Linked DNA regions of Homo sapiens: regions 1, 2, 3, 4 and 6 are each linked to region 5. The links are contacts of gene promoters, found by promoter capture Hi-C in blood cells and fetal thymus (Javierre and others, 2016). All regions are on one chromosome and are shown on one strand. Each heading gives the region's core, a stretch centred on a gene start or on the middle of the fragment in contact. The rest is flanking DNA. Distances are from core to core; before and after follow the strand shown. Region 1 holds the start of NCF4 (neutrophil cytosolic factor 4). Region 2 holds the start of MFNG (MFNG O-fucosylpeptide 3-beta-N-acetylglucosaminyltransferase). Region 3 holds the start of CDC42EP1 (CDC42 effector protein 1). Region 4 holds the start of PVALB (parvalbumin). Region 5 holds the start of SSTR3 (somatostatin receptor 3). Region 6 holds the start of LGALS2 (galectin 2).

Region 1 (3,704 bases), core at 1-2,500, 350 kb after region 5:
TGTTCCCCGCGTAGGCACACACCAGCCTGGCCTGTCTCTGGTGACCCCCTGAGTGGCCTCCACGTAGGTAACAGAGGTCACCTGCTGTTCCAATCCAGGGGGTGCAGGGGCCAGGCTTTGCGTCCTCAGGGCCCCCGCAGCTTAGAGCTCAGACCTGGCTACTGAGGAAAAATTCTGAAAATGCTTCCCAAGCGACGAGGCTAGATGCTGGTGAGGCCGTGCTCCAAGCCCCAACCTTGCCAGTCACTCTCTGTGACCCTGAGTAAGTCTCTTATCCTCCCTGGGCCTCAGATTTCCAATCTGTACAATGGCAAGGTTGGACTAGAAGAATCTAAGACCTTTTCCGTCTCAAAGATCCACCCATTCATTCATTCATTTATTCATTCATTCAGCAACATTTATTGAGCCCTTGGTCCTGGTGCTCAATAGGGATGAGCTACCTCCTAGTGATACAGCAGCGATCAAAACGGACACAGCCTCGTGGAGCTTGCTTCTCATGGGGGAGCCAACGTTCAAGAAAAAATAATAAATGAGCATATAATATTATTCCTGTAATATAAGAACCAGGCAGAAAAGGGAAATAGGGCAAAGGGTCAGACAGCAATGAGGTAGGGGCTGTCAGGAAGGCTTCTTGGAGGAGGTGACATTTGAGGCAAGCCCTGATTAGCGGAAGAACAAGCCAGATTCTGTGAATTCTGTTTGCGCAGAAGATGGAAAGTCATTGCTGATCACCATGTGAAGCAAAGGGCCCCAGCCTGGGACCCAGGACACCTGCATTCCTCTCCAGACACTGCCGGTCACTCGTTGTGTGACCGTGGGCAAGTCACTCCCACTCTTGGAGCCTCAGTGTTCTCATTTGTGTCTGAGGGTGGTGAGCCACAGCTCAAAGTTTCGTTAAAGCAGTTCTGAGAGGTTGCATTTCTGAGTATTTGGGTTCTGACTCAACCCCAGCCTCTCATGTTGATCAGGGACTGCAGAAGGACTGGCCTTTGTCCCTAAGGCCTATGAGGAGCAGTGAGAAGGCCCGGGGGCGGCCACACCCCGGCACTCACCTCTCGGCCCGCAGCTGCTGGGCCACAGCCATGGTGGGCGATGGTCCCAGGGAGCAGGTGGAGAGTCTCGCCCAGCCAGTCCCAGGCTGAGTTCACCTCTCACTTCCTCCAGCCACCCTGCGTCTCGTCTCAGCCTGTGGTCCTGGGAGTCCCCAGGAGCTGCCTTTGGGGAGGCTCAGGCCTGCTTCTCTCCAGTCTGGCAGAGGCTCCTCCTCCAGGCTCTCTGGGCCTAGCCTGTGGCCCACACTTCCTCTTACCTCACCTCCCAGCTGCACAGAAATTGAGGAAGTGGACCCTCGGGTGCCAGGTTTGCAGGAATCCACTTCCTTGATGTCAGTCCTTGGCGCCAAGCCTCAGTTGGGTATCAGAAGCCTTGCTCCATCAGAGATGGGGTCCCAGCCATCAGGGTGTCTTGTGACCTTGAGGAGTCACTTATCCTCTGGCCCATCAAGCCCCACCTTTATTCTCTTACTGCCAAGCCTTTGCCCAAACTCTTCCCCAGGCCTAGAATGCTGGCCTCCATTTTCCTGTGATCTCTTAGGCCCAGAGTAAATGCCACCTCCTCCAGGAAGCCCTCCTGGTTCCTCTGGCCTCTGTCTTCCTAGAGTGTGAAGTTTGGTTTGCGCGCCCTGGCACTCTGGGATATCCTTTCCTCATCCTTAGATCTCCATGCCCAGCCAATCCTCTTTCACAGGGCTGCCAATCAGAGTGAGTTTCACCCTCCCTGCTTAAACTCTCCTGCCCCATCACCCTGTGCTCAGGATAAAGTCCAGAGTCCTTGCCCTGCCTGCCTCCAATGCCCCTGAGGCCCTGCAGCCTTCCCCAGCCTCTGCTCCTGAGCTCCCTTTTTCTCACTGGCCTCCTTTCCGTTTCTAGAATGTTCTAAGACGTCCGCCCCAAGGCCTATGCTCATGGTGTTCCCTCTGCTGGAAAAAGCTCTTCACTGCCTCCTTTGCATCTCAGCTTAGAAGCTACATCTTTAGCGAGGCCTTCCCTGACCACACACCCTAAATTAAGGCCCTCCCTACTACATTCTCTCACAGGTCCCTGCACGTCTACTGCAGAGCACTCATAACTATTGTCATCTCACATTTGTTTGTTTATCTGTATGTTTAATGACTGCCTCCTTGGCTAGCAGCGTGCCTGGCACATTGCAAGTGCTCAACCAATATTCAGTGAATGAATGAAACGCTGCCAGTCAGTGACTGCAGCTCCTAACAGGTATGGGTATTTGATTCTGAAGGGACTTCTCTGAGAAGAGGTCCACAGGAGTCATTGGCACAGCCACACCCAGTAACTCCCTGCCAGCTACACACGCTCACACACTCGTATTCATACATGCAGAGCAGAAAGTTGTTTTAAACTACTTTAAACATACAAGTCCCAGCTAAAAAAAACAAGAAAGCATAATTTTTAGGTAGGATCAAAGAGAGGGGTCAGGAATCTATACCAGGGGGAGAGGAACGTGGCCAACAGCCCATGGGAAAACCAAGATTGGATATGCATTGTTGGGCTGAGATTTTAATGCCAAATCTGGGACTAGGTACAGGCCACAGGTCCTGCTGTTAGCAGAAAGTCAAATCTGAGTTCTCAGTGTAAAGTGGGTGTCAGAACTGATTATGGGAACAGAGTTTCTCAGCCATCAGCCTAGAGTCACGGCAGGAGCTGAGGTCCTCTCACAGTCCATGGGTGGAACAAGGGACGTGTGTACCAGATCAGCCTCAAGCCTGCCCTCTGCACTGGTGTAAGGCCCCGATATAAGCTACCCACGTGGTGCAGAAATCCTAAGCTGAGGCATTATATAAAAACAGCTTGGAGTCAGTGACTCTGCAGGGCCTACTCTGTCAACTCACAGACCAAAACTACAAATCGTGAGCTGTGAAAGACAGCTCAGAGCCTCCACATCATGAAGAATTCACACCCAAAGAACTAGAAATAATACAAACAATAAGTCTGATGAGTTGCTGGTGTCTCGGGGCTCCCAGGCTAGAGGATGAAATGAAACACAGAGCAGGGTTATTAGTGCAGGTGTCTGTAAGTACCAACAGGTGCAAGCACACAGCCATAACTGAGGGAAGAGGAGGACATTGGCCTACAGTTGGTCAGGAAGGACAGGAAGTGGCAAAACAATTTTAGCAAGCAAGCATGATACAGAATTTGTAGGTGATTGTGTAAACTGTGTGTGTAGTATATGCCTATAGTTGGAAACACATATTTGTGTATAAACACATACAGCTCGCATAGGCAAGTGTAAGTGCATTTGTGTTGTGTCTATAAAAGACCATATAATGTGTATAGTGGTGGCATTGTGGCTGTGAGAGAATGTGTTTAGATGTTTAGGTTGCAGTCGGTGACAAATGAGTATAAACACAAGTACATTTATAATAGGTGAACTCAGGCAAGATAACATGTCCTTTTTGAACCTTTCTTCTTCACCAATCTGTGAAACAGTCTTGCCTAATGGAGTTGTAGTAGGAATTAATAGAAAACTGTATAAAAGTGCCTAGACACATGGACATTTCTTATTCCTTTTTTAATCGTTTTCAGTGTGTATATCTGTATGTGTGTGTTTCAGGTGGGTTAAGCCCTCAAGTTTACCTTCCCAGGTATTTTCATGGCTTGCCCTCCAAACCCCGGCCCCCCCAACCCCCC
Region 2 (3,280 bases), core at 519-3,018, 270 kb before region 5:
GCCTCCCGGGTTCAAGTGATTCTCCTGCCTCAGCCTCCCTAGTAGCTGGGATTACAGGTGCCTGCCACAATGCCTAGCTAATTTTTGTATTTTTGGTAGAGACGGGGTTTCACCATGTTGGCCAGGCTGGTCTTGAACTCCTGACCTCAAGTGATCTGCCTGCCTTGGCCTCCCAAAGTGCTGGGAGTACAGGCGTGAGCCATGGCGCCCAGCCCCCAGTCAGGATTTAAACCTGGTCTGTGGGGTACAGAGTCTGGGATCATCACCAAGGCTGGCATCATCACCATTCTGAGAATATGGCCTGTGAAGGGGCCTGGCTGGGGGCTGGCCCATGAGAAGGTCATTCAAAGGGTTGGTTTTCCCTTCCTCTCCCCCAGCTGTCCTCATGCAGGGTTGAGCCCGGCAGGGCCACTTCCCTTTGCCAGCCACCTGGTACTTTGTTGTGTTGAATTAACATTGATTGAGTTCTTGTCTGCCGGTCACTGTTCTAGGCACTGGGGATTAGGGACTCAGTGATCAAAAAATAAATCCTGCCCTGATATTCTCATGAGGAGGACAGAAACTTAGTTAAACATACAGAATGTTGGAAGATGAAAAGTGTGATGAAGAAAACAGTGAAGTGGCTTGAGAGGGACAGGCCTGGGGGGCTGGGAAGGAGGCGGCGAGGGGTTGCAATGTTAATAACGTGGTCAGGGAAGGCCTCACAGAGACGGTGACCTTTGTGTAAAGACCAGAAGGGAGTGGGGGAGTGAGACGTGCAGGTCTCTAGGGAGGGGCCCAGGTGGGAACAGCAAGTGCCAAGGTCCTGTGGCGGCCAGGTGCCTGGGCCAGCGAGGGTCCCAGGTTCTGGAGTGGAGCAGGGTGAGTAGCAGGAGATGGGGTGGGAGTAACTTGGGAGCCAGCTCACGCAGGGCCTTGTGGGCTGCTGTGTGCGTTTTGGCTTTTGTTCTGAAGAAAATGGGAGCCAGTGCAGGCTCTGAGTGGAGGAGGGAGGAGGTGTGAGTGAGCTTGTGCGAAACAAGATGGAGGTGGTGGCTGGAGAAGGCCCTCTGTCTGTCCACTGGTCAGGTGCTGGGAGAGAGGCAGCTCCAGAGACTGCGGAGTGAGGTCGGGTATGGGCTGGGGCACAGCTGGACAGGTGCCCTCAGGGGACCTCCTGTGAACTAGATGAGGAACAGAGACCTGGGTTCTGCCAGCTCTGCGGCTGAGTTGCTGGATCGTTTTTGCTCATTCTGTGCCTTTGTGCCTTATGTCTTCAGCTATAAACTGGGAACGACAGTCCCAGTGCTGTTGTGAAGACCTCAGGAACTGAGCGAACAACTGTGGGAGCCCCAGAGGTTAAGAGGTTATCACGGAAGGCTTCCTGGAGGAGGGAACCCTTAAGCTTTGAAGTCCAGATAGAACTCAGCCTAGTGGAGGGAATGTGGGTGAGGCTGGTGGAATATGGGAGAGCATCCCGGAGGAAACCTGTGAGCAAAAGCTGGGGGCTGGGTGAAGCAGGACACCAAAGTAATGGGTGTTGAATGGGCCGAGCTGACAGCTCTCTGGGGGAGTGGACGGTGCTGGAGGACACTCCCTTCCACCGGGCACGGAGGGTTTGTTGTGACTTCCTCCCACCGCAGCAGCTGGCAGAGCCGGGGCTGCCCTTTCTGCTGGTGCCTCCTTTCAGCCGCCTCTGTCTGGGGTTCCCTTCGTCTGGCCCCGCCCCTCGGGCTAAGCGGGGCGGGGCCAGGCGGTCCCGGAGGCTGCGGCAGGCCGGACAGCGGGAGCAGGTGGAGGACTGGCGGCGGTCGAGATCGTGCTGCCATGGCTCAGCCTCTGGGTCCAGAGCCTCAGCTCCTACCTCTTCCCTCCTTGCCAGCCCCTGATGCCTGCCAGACTTTTGCCTCTGCTGGAGCCCCTGCCTGACCAGCTTCCCCTCCCTGTCTGGTTGGGATTTGGGGGCTGAGCTGTCTGGGGTCCCAGGGCCAACCAATGCAGTGCCGGCTCCCGCGGGGCCTGGCTGGAGCCCTCCTCACCCTCCTGTGCATGGGGCTCCTGTGTCTGCGGTACCACTTGAACCTGTCCCCGCAGCGGGTACAAGGGACCCCCGAGCTGAGCCAGCCGAACCCGGGGCCCCCTAAGCTACAGCTACACGATGTCTTCATTGCAGTGAAGACGACCCGGGCTTTCCACCGCTTGCGCCTGGAGCTGCTGCTTGACACGTGGGTTTCCAGGACCAGGGAACAGGTGACAAGTGGGTGACATTGGGCCCTGGGGGTGGCCCCTGGCCTAAGGGGTTCTCAGAGGCCTTTCTACTGGGCTGGGGTCCCTGACTGCCTCATGGGAGAAGCTGCTCAATACCTGCCTAATCAGGGATCCTCTTCCTCTCTCCTTCTTCCGGGCTTTAGGGGCTGCCTGCGGCCCTGCCCGTGCCCTGTACTGGTCCTGACTCCAGGTGCACCCAGGTCCTACCGCTCCACCACTTTTGGGGGCCAGGCTGGGCCCCTGCTCCAGGCTCCCGGGTCCCTCCTGGGGGTTCTTCTATTCCTAGCCGCTCCCGTGGGGGCTTCGCTCCTAGCCACCCAGGCCCAGCCTGGCATCAGGGGTAATGGTGGGTGTTGGGCAGCTGGGGTGGAGGCCTCCAAGAGGTCCTGACCCAGACCCGTGCCCAGGCCAGGCTGTCCCACCCAGGCCCTAGGTGCTGTCCTGCCCGGGCTCTGAGGGTGGAGGACGGGAGGAGAATGGTGGGGTCTGTTCTTGGGGGAGGCATCCCTTCGGCCTTCCCGATAGCCCCTGCCGCTGTGTCTCTGCTGCCCCGGGTGTGCCGAGGCCGCCATGTCTGGCCTCCTGTGTTGGCTTCCTGCGGACTGCTTCCGAGGGAGGGAAGGAGAGCGCATGCCACGAGGGTGGCGGCTGAGGCAGTGGTGGGCCGGAGGTTGGGGAGGCCTGCCTGGCACGTGGGATTGTGTGTGTGTGTGTGTGTGTGCTCACACGCACGGAGCTGGAGTGTGCTAGATGTGTGTGACAAGAGGCATGTCTGTCACATGGCTGTGCGGCTCCGGCGAGCCAAGTCCCTTCCAGCCCTTTCCCTCCTCGCATCCAGTATCTTCCTTAAGCAAAGTTAGTGATGTCGGTGTTAGGGACCGTTGATGGGGGAGGTGGAGAATGGGTACACACACACACACACACACACACACATCGGTCCCCTCTTTGGCGGCTGGCTCAGTGGGAGGAAGTGACTGAGTCTTTGGAGATAGTCGAGACCTCCTGGAAGACCAAAAGGAGGGGGAGAGGATGG
Region 3 (3,715 bases), core at 897-3,396, 350 kb before region 5:
GCGCTGTGGAGCTGAGGGCAGGGTATTGGGACCCGGTCTTCCCATGTGGAAAACGGAACAGCACACCAGGCAGTTCCCCTCCCAGGGGAGTTGCAAGGGTAGAAAATGTAATGAAACCCTCAGATACTGGAGCAGGGCAGCCATGGGTTCAAATCTGACACCTTTACACTAACATCTCTCATTCCAGGGACCCCGGTGGCAGCCACGTGGCACTTGCTGCCAACCACAGGGCACTGCTGGCCATCAGGTGTGCCTCACCTGGCACTGGAGTAAGCAGGGCTCCAAGTGTCCTGGTGCCAGGCTCACCTCCCCTCACCTGCTCAGGAACACCGCCCGTTAGTGTTCAGAACACCCCTTTCACAGATGGAAAAAACGAAGCTCAGAAAGGAGACATTTACCCTCAGTCACAGACCAACATTGCTGGTAAATGCCCCAGGGTGGGGGTGAAGACGATGGGGAATGGGGAAGACGATTTGGAGGGCTTGGATGCCCAGTGCTGAGCCCGGTGTGGGGTGCAGGTGCAGGCCTGGGAAGACAGGAGACCCAGCTCTGCAGATTCACTGCCTGTGACCTGGGCAAGGAGGTCACCACACAGCCTCAGTGTCCTTGGAGTCCTTATATTTACCCTATAGAGGATAGTCAGGGCCTGGGCACATGGCCTGAGCTCACTCAATGGTGGGAATGACGCAAGAACAAGTTTTGGAGCCGGGATCGGGCCAACAGGGGTCGCTGTGGAGGCACATGTGGTCGCGGGGAGGCCAAGGGCGGGTCTGAAGGAGAGCGGGGGCGGCTGCACCCTGGCATTCACCTGGGGGTCACCCGCAGGCCGCAGTGCTGGCCAGGGGCCCACGTCTCATCCTGGAGGCCACTGCTCGGGTGCACACAGCCCACTTCCTGCGGGCATCCAGCTGGGTGACGCCCCCCCCCACCGCTGGACAGCGGGTCCCTGTCATGGTTACGGCAGCTCCCCCAAACCTGCTCTGGTCCCTGGAATAAGGGGTTAAACCGGTCGGCTGACTTCTCCTGCTCCTCAAAGTCCAGACGCTTCAAGGTGGAGAGACGGGGAAACTGAGGCCAGAACGGGGTAGCTAGTTGTTCGCAGTCGCGCTAGGGGACCCGGTCCTCCGTATTCCAAGGGGGGCACCGTGGGCCATTAGGGAGCGACGGGGAAAGTGGAAAGGAGACGCGCTTCGTGCCCACCGCCCCGAGTTAGAGCCGAACCAGCCCGGGACCGAGCGAGACGGAGCGGCTGCGGGCCGCGTCTCGGGTCCCCGCGCCACGTTTAGTGCCGCTGCGGCCTCCCGGCCAGTCCCCCCTACTCTCTAAGCCTCAGTTTCCCGGTCTAGGAAAAGGGCTTCGAATGTTGCGGGTCTGGCACTGCTGGGGCAAAGGCAGAACAATCTGGAGGGCGGCCGGGATTGGAAGTCCGGGAAAGACTTCGGCCATCCAACATTCCCTGGGGGGACGGGGCTCAGGACGCGGAGGGTCGCTCCGCGGGGGAAGGGGACGACCGGCTGTCTTGGCCGGAGGGGAACCGGACGGGATGACCTCATCCGCGGCTCCAGCCTGGAATGCGGCGGTCGGGGAGGGGGGCAGGGTGCCTGTCCATCTCCCCGGGCCCCCCACCCCCCACTTCCCGCTCTCCGCGTGGGCCTCGGCGGAGGGGAGACATTCCGCCGCGTCGCCCGCTGCCCGCCCCGGCCCTTCCTTCCCCCGCGCAGGAAGGCGCGGAGACAGCCCCCGCTCTGCCCCTCGGCTCGCCCCCTCCTCGCGCATTTTGGCCGCTCAGCCGTGTCCGATCCTCTGCCCCCTCCACCAGCCTGGAACGGGACACGAAGCCCGAAAGCTCGGAGTTTCCTCGCGCGGCTCCGCGGCCGCGCCCGGCCTTCCTGTGGGCACCCGGGGGCGCCTCTCCCGGGCGGGTCCCGTCCCCGTTCCGGCCCCGGGAGCCTAGTAGGGTGCAGAGTCCCCGCGGGCGCCGGGACCCGCCGGCCTCCACGGCCTCCGCCCCGAGGACCCGCGCGCCCGGGCTGTTACCTGGCTCCGCGAGCCCCGGGGGCGCGGGACGAGGGCGGACTCGTCGTCTGCAGCGGCGGCGGCCGCGCGTCCCGGCTGGCAGCCCGGGAGAGTCGCTGGGCCGGTCTGCGCCGCCCTGGCCGCGGGCTCCGCGGGCTGGATCCGGGGGCGGGGGCGGGGTGTGGGCGCTCCCGCCTCCCGCCCGTCTCCTCCCGCCCGCGGGCGGGGCCCGGCCCCCTCCCCGGCCCCCTCCCCGGCACCGTCCTCGCGGCCGCCGAGAGCTGGCAGGGACGCGGCTGGGGGGCCAGGCCAGGCCTCTGCTCGCCACCCCGGACAAGGCCAGCCGGGGAACGTGCGGGCTGCCCCGGGGAGGCGACTCCGGTCCCCGGCCGCCAACCCCTCTTCCACCGGTTCCCCTCGTGGCCTTGCTTGGGGCGTCCAGGCCTGATGAACTCTCCTCCCTCCTGGGCCCTCCAGCCGCGCCCTGCGGGAGTTCGGGGAACCGGGAAGCTCGATCTGAGGCCTTGAATGCCTGGGCCTTTAAACCTTGATGTTTACAGGCATGACATGCCCACTCCTTTGCTCCCCATTCTCATTCCCTTCCATCCGGTACAGGCCCCGCGGTGCCCAGGAGGAAGACAGCCATACTGGGGCGACTGGTAGAGTGGGGTAGAGTGGCCGTCAAGACCGGGACCCTGGAGCCGGACAGCCTGGGCTCCTGTCCTGCCTCAGTCACTACTTACCTTTCTCTGCCTCAGTTTCCTGATCTGAAAGTGGGATAGATAATAGCAGCATCAGATGTTGTGTGAAGTGTTTCCTGCTCCAAGAGCACCTAGGAGGCTTGCTCGGCAGGTAAATGAAGTCGCATCTCAGAGACTTTACAGACCCTCCCCCCACCCCGCCCACCTCCATGGAGGGCAGGGAATCAGCCATACCCGGGACCCTGTGCCATCCTCAAGGAGGGGAGATAGATCTCTGGCCCCTGCCTCCCGTTGTTGTGCCCTCCTTTGACTACTCCCATCTGACTATAGAGTCCTCGGGCTGTCAGGGCACAGAGAGGTCCCTAATACTTCCTGCAGGGCCTGGGGGCTCAGGAAATCTTCCTAGAGGAGATGATACCTGAGTTAAGTCTCTCTCTCTCTCTTTTTTTTTTTTTTTTTTTTTTTTTTTTTTTTTTTTTTTTTTTTGAGACGGAGTCTCTCTCTGTTGCTCAGGCTGGAGTGCCATGGCATGATCTCAGCTCACTGCAGCTTCCACCTCCCGGGTTCAAGCGATTCTCCCTCCTAAGCCTCCGGACTAGCTGGGATTACAGGCACCCACCCACGCCCGGCTAATTTTTGTATTTTTTAGTAGAGAGGGGGCTTCACCATGTTGGCCAGGCTGGTCTTGAACTCCTTACCTCAGGTGATCCGCCTGCCTTGGCCTCCTCAAGTGCTAGGATTATGGGTGTGAGCCACTGCATGGTTGTGAGTTAAGTCTTAAAGGACGTGTAGGCAGAGGGAAGGGCAGTGGAAATGCACAGTGCACAGCTGGCAAGGGACAGCACAGCAAAGGCTGGGAGTGGAGGACCCTGCAGCGGAGGCAAACCCGGCTGAAGGAGACTGGCTGAGCGCTGTTGTGGCCGGGGATGAGGAGCTGTATTTACCCGCAGGTGGAGGAGACAAGGTCTTTACTGTTCACCCAGGGGCTAGGCCTCTTC
Region 4 (3,441 bases), core at 248-2,747, 400 kb after region 5:
GAGAGGCATCAGGTCAGGAGCTGCATCCTTGGTGCCTTGGAAGCCATCTGGCGGGCTGTGGCTTGAAGGAGCTGACTCACAGGGAGGGGGCAGCTGGAGCCAGCAGAGGTATCCTAAGGTTTCCAGGAAGGGCAGCCATCCAGGGCTGAGCTGCAGGAGACAATGTTGACAGCGATGTCAGGGAACTTGAGTTACTGGGCAGCTGGACAGCTGCTCTCCCTGGTCCCCACCACCCAGGGCCACCACAGCCCAAGGCCCTGCCTACCTGCCAATACCTTAAGTTGCAGTCCCCAGGTCCCACTACATGGGACCACTGACGTCATCAACACATCAGAAGGAGACAGAAGCCCAGAGAAGGTCACAACCCAAGGTCACACTGGGACTTAGTGCAGCCCAGGATCTAGAACCCAGGCCTCCTGACTCCCTGTCCAGCGCTCACACACTCTAGAAGCAGCTGGTTGCAGCTTGAAACCTTGGGAACCATGGGGAAGAACACAACGGGTCTCTGGCTGCATACAGATAGGCACCGTGACATTTTTCCAGAGGTGAAGTTCAGACCCCTACACCTGCTTAGGTTGTCTAGAAAGTGTGGTCTGAAGGTGCTACCCTTCTTCCAAACACATATGGGGCTTTCTGGGAGGGAGCATAGCAATTCCAAGCGGACTCTCCCACCCTACTCTGCCCAAAAAAGGTTTATAGGAGTAGGGGGAGTCTGGACCCATGATGCCAGGACCCAGGAGACCAGGAAAGCAAGTAGTTAGTAGAGATCTGAGAAGTGTTCTTCGAAAAATCAAGCCAGCAAAAAAATAAAAAATAAAAGTAAAACATCAAATCAGGTTTTAGAATATGCATCCCTGGCCAGATGTGGGATGGGGCACCCGAAGTGGGCCCCAGCAGCTCCTGCCTGTCCCTGTCCCTGTCCCTGCCACCTCCTCCCTGCGTCGGGTGGGTCAGGTTTCAGGACCTCAGCGCTCAGATTTTGCAGCATAAATTTGCATCCAGGACAGACCAGAGCAGAGGCTGAGGTAGGAGTGGAGAGAGAAAGGGAGCAGGGCCTAGGAGGTCCTGAGGTGCAGGCTGGCCGCTGAAGGTTCAGGATCTTCCCCCACGCGGCAGGACATCCGCCAAGGTTCCCAGATCTGAGACGGCGCACCTCCTGCGTGTCCTTGACGGCAGGTGGACTTTCCAGACCCAGCTGGTGACGCCAGTGCCCCCTAAATCCCAGAGGTGGCCCCTTCCCTCGTGCCCTGGCCGCAGCCCCTGGGATCCCGCGGACCCCTGGCCTGGCGGTGCAGGAGTGGTAGCAGGTCCGCGCGCCTTCTTGCCGGCGGCCGGCGCTGCTCAGCGGCGCGGCTGGACTGAGCCGCTCCCGCTGCGCTCAGAGTCCGGGCCCCTGGCGCCATGCCAGGCCCGGCGGGCGTGCGCCCGGCGCGCAGCACTGCAGCGCTGGTCATATGAGCAGAAATGATGAGAAAAGCACTTTTTAATCTTTTCGCACTTGCTCTGCCCGCTCAAACAGTTGCAGGATGTCGATGACAGACTTGCTGAACGCTGAGGACATCAAGAAGGCGGTGGGAGCCTTTAGCGGTGAGCAAGCGCGCTCCCCTCCCCATCCCTCTCCCCTCGTCCACCGCCCGCGCCCCTGCACTCCGCCGGCCCCGCAGCCGGCGGATCCTCCCCAGCGCGCTTCTGCCCACACTTCCCGCTGGGCGCCGGCGAGGTCGGGGCGGGGGCGTCCTTGGCAGTTCCCAAACTCTGTCCGGGCGAGGCTTGGCGCGGGGAGCGGGCGGGGAAGAGGGCGCCCCGCCTAAGTTACAGAAACTTGAGGGTGCTGAAGGCCCGGTGGCTGGGAGGACTCAGGGTCCGGGACCAAGGGCGAAGACCAGGGTCGGAGGAGAGACCTCCAGGGTCCTTGTACGAGCTCTCTGGACGTCCTCTTTAAGGCACTTAGAGGGGACTGCAGGGGGCATCCTCCTCTCCAAGAGACCCCTTTCCTGGACCCTCATTCTGGACAGGACTTTTCCCGCCAGGCGGTAGCCTTTGTTGGCCCCCTGACTGTCCTAGTTCCTTTACTGAGATTCAGCAACGGACCTGCGGGCGAGGTGACCTTCTGGAGCCGGCGCACAGCTCTGCCTAAGCCCGCACGGGGCATCCTCAGTGCCTCAAACCTCCAGCCTCCTTAGGCGGGCAGGGGAGGGGAACTGGCAGTCTCACCTCTCCCAGCTGCCCGGGACTTCAGCGCTAAGCTGCCCGCCTTCCTCCTCCCCTGTCCTCCAGATGGGGAAATCAGGGAACTGTCTTGGAGAGGACAAGACATTTGCCCAAGGTCACCTAGCTGGGCAGAAGGGGTATTAGAACTGGGTTGCCCAGCCTAGTGTCGGAGGTGGACAGGGCAACTTTCCTTGTCTCTAGCCCTGTGCTGAGGGGAAGAGAACATGACTTCAACAGCCATTCCCTACACACACACACACACACACACACACACAAAATACATGATCTAACATTGTACCCTTCCCCAGGTGTTCTAAAACAGGACCCCAAGATACAGAAAATTGCAGGTAGAAAAGGACCCCCATTTCCTTTCTGCTTTGCACCCCCTCCCCTGGGCACAAGAACCTCTCTGGGAAGCCACCCTCCCAGGGTCCTGGGATAACCCTCTCCCTTCACCTCAAGCCCATGTGGGAAGAAACTTAACTGGGTGTTTCTCGGGAGCCTCCTAACACCCCCTTCCCACTGCCTCCGAAGTGGATTTCTGCGCAGAGCCAGGACTTCCGGGTTTGCCCCTCCTCCTCCCACTGTATGACCTTGAGGGAAACCTGTCCTTTCTATGTCAATTTTCTGGCAACAAAGTCTGTGGCCAAGAAAGAAGGTCAACCCTCCTCCCCCTAACCCCAGGACCATGTTCATGCCCCCTTCAATTCCCCAGCCCACTCCCAACCAGCTGGCACTCAAAAGTCTTCCTGGGCACAAGGTTCTCAGAAGAACAAAAGCCTTTGGTTCTTAGGTGCTGCTCCCATCATCAGCAATGGGTGCAGTGGAGGTGGGGCGTGGGGGCGGGCTTGAGAGCCAGGGAGGTCTGGGTTTGAGCACACCTCTTCCACTCCCAGCCTTGTGACCTTGGACAGGTTATCCTCCCTTGCCCGGGCTCCCTCAGCCCTCCAATGGAGGTGGGTACCTCTCATTCCCCATGACTGGCATGTGGGAATCCATCAACAAATGCCTTGATGCCCCCCATTCTCCCAGGCTTCCCTACCAGCCTTTCTGGTCCTTGTTTGACCCTGCTCTTCCCCCCACAGCTACCGACTCCTTCGACCACAAAAAGTTCTTCCAAATGGTCGGCCTGAAGAAAAAGAGTGCGGATGATGTGAAGAAGGTGTTTCACATGCTGGACAAGGACAAAAGTGGCTTCATCGAGGAGGATGAGCTGGGGTAAGCGGAGGC
Region 5 (3,581 bases), core at 865-3,364:
TGACATAAGGCAGATCAGCAGGAGAAAAACATACAGATTTCATTTACATGTACAAGGGAGCCCCCCCGCCTCCCGCCCAAATGACCAAGACCCAAAGAAGTGACTAGGCATAAAGGCTTTTGTACCAGGTTGAACATAGAATGGCAATTGTGTAACTAGGAAGATAAGGATTAAAAGATCTGTTCATACAGATTTCTTTTGGCCTCGACTCTCCTTATCTGGTAATGTCTTTCCTCCTCCTGGCATAGGGAGGGCGTCTTTCACAAGGCGTTTTAGCTCCTGCTTTCAGGAAGAAAAGGGGAGGTCAGAGCCCCCTTTCTGCACCTGCTGTTTCTGAAGTGCCTTTAGTGCAGAGAAATCAATATGCCAGAGTGGTGTATTCTGGGGTGGCGTGTCCTGAACCCCTTCAGTGGCCTGGCTCAGACGGGAGCCTGTGGATGGAGAGCAGTGGACGGGTTCCAGGCTGGAGCAGTAAGGCTCGGTGCTGGGGAGGTGTGTGGCAGGGGGCACACTGATGAGCATTCACTCCTTTAACCTTCGCAAGAACCCCCAGGCCAGGCAGTCAGGTGTGTACAATCTACTGAAGGAGAAAACCGAAGTTTAAGTTCAGTGCACGGCAGGGGTAGAGCTGGGGCTCAAACTCCCCTGTCCAGTCTTCAGCCCCTATACCCCAACCTGCAGGAATAAGTGAATGAATACATGAGGCTGGGTACGCCTGGGGCACAGAGGAGCGAGTGAAATCAGCAGAGGAGGAGGCCCGCGCAGGCGGCAGGAATCAAGGATGCAGTGCCAGGTGGGCTGCGGCGAGAGAGCTTTATTCTGAGGGCAGTGAGAAGCCGTGGGTAGGGGTGGGTGGTCAGTGCCATGGAAAACCCACCCTTGACCCTGAGGACACGCTCCCAGGAGCCCACCCACACCTCATGAACTTGTACGGACAAGGACAATGGGAGGCTGAGACCTGGAGCAAGGGCCTTGTCCCGGGCACAAGGCAAAGGGACGGGCAGCGTTAAGAGACCAGGCCGGCTCCGGCTGGAAGTGGGTGTGTCCTACTGTGTGCTGCCGCATGCATGGTGGCACCTCTGGATGCATTCAACTTCCAGTTCTCTGCAGTGCCAGGTACCTAGTGACAAAGGAGGTCCAGCCCTGGTCCCAGGGAATGGCCCAGTTTGGAAAGCAGCCTAGGTACAGCCTGGCACATAGTAGGTGCTCAGCCAAGACGTGTGTCCTTTTCCCTTCCGTCTCTGACTGTTCCTTTCCTTATCACTCCTGTGCTGAGGCAGGAATCAGCACAGGCAGGGGCACGGCATCCCAAGACATCTGGGCCTGTGCTCAGGACTGTACGGCAGAGTCTCTTAGACCAAAGATCAGTAAATATGGCCCACGGGGCAAATCCCACCCACTGCCTGTTTTTGTACAGCCTAGGAGCTGAGAATGGTTTTTACGGATGAACATTTGCAATCGGTTTGATGAAACACTAACTCTAAACTCCAATTAAGCAAAAGGTGATGTCTGTAAAAAGAACTCTATTCTTCTCATGAGTGGACCTACATTACAAAATACTGGCCTCAATTATTATTATTCTATTTTGAGTTTTGTCAGTTACAAAATAGTAAAAATCTGTTTTCTCACTGCACAATGATTTTGCCCTCAAAGCCTAAAATATTGGTTCTCTGTTCTGTCCTTCCACTCCTCACCCTGCCTGGGGCTCTCCAGATGTAACCAATCCCAGGACTAATGACCCCCACCCGGCCTCCCCAGTGGTCCGTGCTGCGGCCGGTGTGCCCGACTGCAGGGCTGGACTGTGGACTCCCGGGCTGGCCAGCCCCACACCCAGCCTTGCCTTGGGACACAGCTGCTGCCCCGGGGGACCTGTGCCGCAGTGGCCTCACGAGCTGCTCTGGCTACTGGCTGGCAGCCTCGGCTCCCCTGAGCACTGAGCACATTCTTCTCTCCAACTCCCTGCAGGAGCCAAGGCCAGCGGGCGTGGGTGGCTGAAATCTCCCCGGTAACAGGGTCTGCGCCCCTCCTGCTCCCTCTCCGGGCCTCCTCCCTTAACCTGCACCCCGCCCCCACCCCCCACACCTGCTCTCCGGCCCTCAGCCCCTCCCTGCTTACTCCCTCCTTCACGGGCTCCATGTCACCATCTGTGGCACAGTCCCTCTCTGTCACTCTCCCTGCCACCCCCTCATTCTCCTTCCTCCCTCCTGCCTCTCTCTGCATCTCTCCCTCTCACCCGTGTCTCCTCTCCTCTCTTTCCTTCTCGTCTTCTCCCTGTCACGCATCTCTCATCACTCCCCCTCATTCTGCCTTTCCTCCTACTCACGGTCTCCTCTCCCTCTCCCTCTCTCTCTCTCCCCCTCCCTCTTTCTCTCTCTCTCTCTTTCTCCACCTCCTCCCGACCCCCTTTCCCCTCTATTTCTATTGGCTTCTGTGTCCCTTGCTCCCCTCTTCTCTTCCTCACCCTGGGAAGCTTCTCCCCCCTATCCTTGCCCCTGCCCCCCCAGGATGTGTCCTGGAGATGGGGGGTGACGTACCAGGCTCTGGTTGGGAAGTCAGGGCCGGAGACCAGATGGGAGAGGCTCTGTGGACAGCCGTGGCCGAGGGCCTGGGAGGGAACCTGAGCCCGCAAGCGGTCTAGAAGTGGGTGCCTTGTGGGGACCCTAGTTAGGAGTGCCCTGGGGGCACCTGGGGACTGGGCAGGGAGAGGGGACAGCAGAATGATAACCAGCCTGGCGGCAAGGAGGGAAGCCCTCACCCCATGGGCAGGTAAGGAGGCTGGGGCCCGGATGATGTCCCGAAGGGTGGGGTCCTGGAAGCCCATCCTCTGCCCAGGATGAACTTGGGAGGCTGGGGCTGGGGAGGCAGAGGGTGGGGACTCCCAGGGAGGCAGGAGGGAGGCCTTCCTGTGACCTCCCGGTCGGCTGCAGGGGCAGGGGCGTTAGTCTCAGAATCTCGTGCCATGATTCTAGGATCTCGGAATCACAGAATCGCAGGCTGTCAGGGCTGGAGGGAGCCAGATGTATCATGTCGTTGGCTTCCCCAGCTCACGTGGCAGCTCTCCTGAGCTCCCCCTCCATACCCGGCACTGTGCTTGGCACGCCTCCGTTTAATCTCTGCAAACAACCCTGGGAGGTGGGTCCGCTTGTCTTCCATATGACGAAACTGAGGTGCAGCGGGGAGAAGTGACTTGCCCGAGGTCACACAGCAATTTGGCATCATCGCTGTGCAGCAGAGCCCAAGCCCCCAGCGCTGGGCCTGTAGGGTGTGCTCCTGGGATCAGGCCCCAGGCCTGGGGTGCCAGTGAGTCAGTCGGCACTGGCAAGCATAAGCCAGGTGTCTTTGGGGGGAAGGCCGAAGCATGTAGAGGACAAGCAGAGAGCCAGGGGCCATCGCCCTGCACTATTCAGGACTGTCATGGCCTTTGATCCTTCTCAGCCTGAGGCCTTCAGAGGAGCCAGTGTGGCCAGGAGGTACTGATGGTTTAGAAGTAGATAGAACTGGGTTCGAATTCTGGCTTCCCACTCTCCAGCTGGGTGACCCTTTGCAGCTTACTCAACCTCTCTGAGCCTCAACTTCTTCCT
Region 6 (3,254 bases), core at 314-2,813, 370 kb before region 5:
GGCCACCGCCAACTCTGATGGAAAACGCTCTGGCTCGCCAAATCCTGAGCTCTAGAAAAGTTCTCCTTCTGGGAATCTGCCCTACATAAGTTGTCACGATGCAGCCAAAGTTTATGTCCAAATAGATTTAATGCAGCAGTATTTTTAATAGCAAAAATGTAGAATTAATGTGAGTGTTCAGCAGAAGGAAATTGGTTAAATAAATTCAGTCGTTGAAAGGTAGACTATTTCGCAGGCATTAAAGTATGGTTCTGAAATATAGATTTGTGGTCTTTAATGTTTCCCAAATGAAGAGAGATAAACAATTGCACAGACAGAGGGGTGTCTATAATGTAAATCTGTGGAGAACCGCCTGGAAGGAAATGTGCCAACAGCGTAAGCCAGTTCCCTCGTGGCGGTGGCATTATGAGTGATTATTTTTCTTTTTATTTAATATCTCTAATTGTCTATAGTAAGCATGCCAGTTACATAAGTAACAGAAGTCAAGAGCAAAGCATTTTCATCCTCCATGTCCCCCACTCAGCCCTCCCACTCCTTCTGCACTTTTATTTATTTTTTATTTTTTTATTTGAGACGGAGCCTCACTCTGTCGCCCAGGCTGGAGTGTAGTGGCGCGATCTTAGCTCCCTGTAACCTCCACCTCCCGGGTTCAAGCGATTCTCCTGCCTCAGCCTCTTGAGCAGCTGTGACTACAGGTGCGACCACGCCCAGCTAATTTTTGTATTTTTAGTAGAGATGGGGTTTCACCATGTTGGCCGGGCTGGTCACAAACTCCTGACTTCAGGTGATCCGCCTGCCTTGGCCTCCCAAAGTGCTGGGATTACAGGCTTAAGCAACCGCGCCCAGCTCTCCTCTGCTTTTGACCATTTGTTGTAAATAGTTTGAAATCTTTTCTTTGAATCCGTGTATTGGTTTTGAAACCTACATGTCCGATCAGATAAATAATATGGGGAGGGAAGAAGAAAACATAATGCTCTCTGACAATGAATCATAACATCATAGAAAATTAGAACCTTAGGCCAGGCGCAATGGCTCACGCCTGTAATCCCAGCACTTTGGGAGGCCAAGGTGGGCAGATCACGAGGTCAGGAGATCGAGACCATCCTGGCTAATACGGTGAAACCTCGTCTCTACTAAAAATACCAAAAAATTAGCCGGGCATGGTGGCGGGTGCCTGTAGTTCCAGCTACTCGGGAGGCTGAGGCAGCAGAATGGTGTGAACCCAGGAGATTGCATTGAGCGGAGATCGTTGCCACTGCACTCCAGCCTGGGTGACAGAGTGAGACTCTGTCTCAAAAAAAAAAAAAAAAGAAAATTAGAAACCTAGACTTTTTTTTTTTTTTGCAAAGCAAATCTCTCTTTTTACAGGCAAGGAAGCTGGGCTAAGTGAGGGAGGCTGGGAGAGCTGTCAAGCGGCTGCATTGCGGTTTGTGTGGGGGCAGAGCTGGGGCTGCTTCCCCTCTCGGGCTCTGGGAGCGCTGAGGAGGGGGAGGCTGGGCTGGAGGGAGGCCAGGAGGATGCTCCGGGCTGGGTGGGGTGGAGCTGGCTGAGGAGTCTTCTGCCTGTTTGTGCTGGGTACTGGGAGATGCAGGCGGGGAGACACAAGGTAGAAGGGGCAAAGTCCTCACCTAGGACCTTGAGGGAGTTAATGTGTAATATTCTAGGATATAAGCTTGACCACGAGTTGAGACCCTGAGCACAGGCCTCCAGGAGCCGCTGGGAGCTGCCGCCAGGAGCTGTCACCATGACGGTGAGGACACTAGCCCCCTGCTGCCTGCCCCACTCTGTTCATCTTTGTCTTTGCCTGGGTGGGGGCTTTTAGGGAAAACCATTGCTGTCCCTCTCTGGGCCTCAGTTTCCCCATCTGTGCAGCAAAGAAGTTGGACAGAGGTCTTTTTTTAAAAAACAGCATCTTGGGCCAGGCGTGGTGGCTCCTGCTTGTAATCCCAGCACTTTGGGAGGCCGAGGCTGGTGGATCATCTGAGGTTGGGAGTTTGAGACCAGCCTGACCAACATGGAGAAACCCCGTCTCTACTAAAAAAATACAAAATTGGCTAGGCCTGGTGGCACATGCCTGTAATCCCAGCTAATGGGGAGGCTGAGGCAGGAGAATCACTTGGACCTGGGAGGCAGAGGTTATGGTGAGCCGAGATTGTGCCATTGCACTCCAGCCTGGGCAACAAGAGTGAGACTCCATCTCAAAACAACAACAACAATACAGCATCTTGCTCTGTCACCAGGTGGAGTGCAGTGGTGGCAATCATAACTCACTACGGACTTGACCTCCTTGGCTTAAATGATCCTCCCACCTCAGCCTCTTGAGTAGCTGGGACCCCAGGCACTCACTACCACACTGGCTAATTTTGTTTGTTTCTTTTCTTTCTCTTTTTTTTTTTTTTTTTGAGATGGAGTCTCGCTCTGTTGCCCAGGCTGGAGTGCAGTGGCCCGATCTCAGCTCACTGCAACCTCTGCTGCCTGGGTTCAAGCAATTCTCTGGTCTCAGCCTCCCAAGTAGCTGGGATTACAGGTATGTGTCACCACACCTGGCTAATTTTTTTTTTTTTGTTGAGATGGAGTTTCTGTTGCCCAGGCTGGAGTGCAATGGCACGATCTCGGCTCACCACAACTTCCACCTCCCAGGTTCAAGCGATTCTCCTGCCTCAGCCTCCTGAGTAGCAGGGATTACAGGCATGGGCCACCACACCCGATTAATTTTGTATTTTTAGTAGAGATGGGGTTTCTCCATGTTGGTCAGGCTGGTCTTGAACTCCTGATCTCAGGTGATCCACCTGCCTTGGCCTCCCAAAGTGCTGGGATTACAGGTGTGAGCCACTGCTCCTGGCCTAATTTTTGTATTTTTAAAGTAGAGACAGGGTTTCACCATGTTGGTCAGGCTGATCTCGAACTCCTGACCTCAGGTGATCCGCCCACCTTGGCCTCCCAAAGTGCTGGGATTACAGGTGTGAGCCACCCCACCCAGCTTATTTCTTATTTTTCGTAGAGATGAGGTCTCACTATGTTGCTCAGGCTGATATCAAACTCCTGGGTTCAAGGGATCCTCCTGCCTTGGCCTCTCGAAGTGCTGAGATTACAGGTGTGAGCCACTGTGCCTGGCCTCCATTGATCTTTATAGAGATAAAAAAAAATCTCAGCTTGGGCAATATAGTGAGACCTTTTCTGCTACAGGTGCATGCCACTACGCTTTGCCTTAAAAAATTAGTGGGGGTAGCGGCACACTCCTCAGCCTTGGGAGG

Evidence for each region. Contacts are between HindIII fragments. The CHiCAGO score rates a contact against its expected background, and 5 or more counts as called.
Region 1: a contact is called between the fragment with the promoter of NCF4 here and the fragment with the promoter of SSTR3 in region 5, in 7 of 17 cell types (endothelial precursors, neutrophils, monocytes and 4 more). The highest score is 9.9, in endothelial precursors.
Region 2: the fragment with the promoter of MFNG here is called in contact with the fragment with the promoter of SSTR3 in region 5 in 14 of 17 cell types (non-activated CD4 T cells, fetal thymus, activated CD4 T cells and 11 more); the score reaches 23.7 in non-activated CD4 T cells.
Region 3: the fragment with the promoter of CDC42EP1 here is called in contact with the fragment with the promoter of SSTR3 in region 5 in 4 of 17 cell types (naive CD8 T cells, naive B cells, neutrophils and 1 more); the score reaches 10.0 in naive CD8 T cells.
Region 4: the fragment with the promoter of PVALB here is called in contact with the fragment with the promoter of SSTR3 in region 5 in 3 of 17 cell types (erythroblasts, monocytes and neutrophils); the score reaches 11.1 in erythroblasts.
Region 6: a contact is called between the fragment with the promoter of LGALS2 here and the fragment with the promoter of SSTR3 in region 5, in 2 of 17 cell types (total CD4 T cells and neutrophils). The highest score is 6.1, in total CD4 T cells.

Annotation. Positions count from the first base shown.
Region 1 is chr22:36,858,552-36,862,255 of GRCh38, reverse strand. NCF4 (neutrophil cytosolic factor 4) reads right to left here and starts at 1,250. Exons shown (of 10, transcript NM_000631.5): 1 at 1,053-1,250. The coding sequence starts at 1,084. The region is part of intron 1 of NCF4-AS1 (NCF4 antisense RNA 1); the gene reads left to right. The HindIII fragment of the contact is 9,996 bases long and covers 1-3,704 here.
Region 2 is chr22:37,484,872-37,488,151 of GRCh38, reverse strand. MFNG (MFNG O-fucosylpeptide 3-beta-N-acetylglucosaminyltransferase) reads left to right here and starts at 1,768. Exons shown (of 8, transcript NM_002405.4): 1 at 1,768-2,229. The coding sequence starts at 1,975. RefSeq lists enhancers at 366-875, 876-1,387, 1,388-1,897, 2,374-2,423, 2,824-2,883 and 1 more and a silencer at 1,674-1,803. The HindIII fragment of the contact is 3,313 bases long and covers 1,387-3,280 here.
Region 3 is chr22:37,558,911-37,562,625 of GRCh38, reverse strand. CDC42EP1 (CDC42 effector protein 1) reads right to left here and starts at 2,146. Exons shown (of 3, transcript NM_152243.3): 1 at 2,038-2,146. RefSeq lists enhancers at 1-295, 598-827, 296-903, 904-1,510. The HindIII fragment of the contact is 15,994 bases long and covers 1-3,715 here.
Region 4 is chr22:36,815,091-36,818,531 of GRCh38, reverse strand. PVALB (parvalbumin) reads left to right here and starts at 1,497. Exons shown (of 4, transcript NM_001315532.2): 1 at 1,497-1,587; 2 at 3,297-3,429. The coding sequence starts at 1,527. The HindIII fragment of the contact is 33,107 bases long and covers 1-3,441 here.
Region 5 is chr22:37,211,010-37,214,590 of GRCh38, reverse strand. It overlaps SSTR3 (somatostatin receptor 3), which reads left to right and starts at 2,114. Exons shown (of 2, transcript NM_001051.5): 1 at 2,114-2,766. RefSeq lists an enhancer at 2,296-3,275. The HindIII fragment of the contact is 10,151 bases long and covers 1-2,472 here.
Region 6 is chr22:37,578,396-37,581,649 of GRCh38, reverse strand. It overlaps LGALS2 (galectin 2), which reads left to right and starts at 1,563. Exons shown (of 4, transcript NM_006498.3): 1 at 1,563-1,750. The coding sequence starts at 1,745. RefSeq lists a silencer at 1,177-1,236. The HindIII fragment of the contact is 11,270 bases long and covers 1-1,674 here.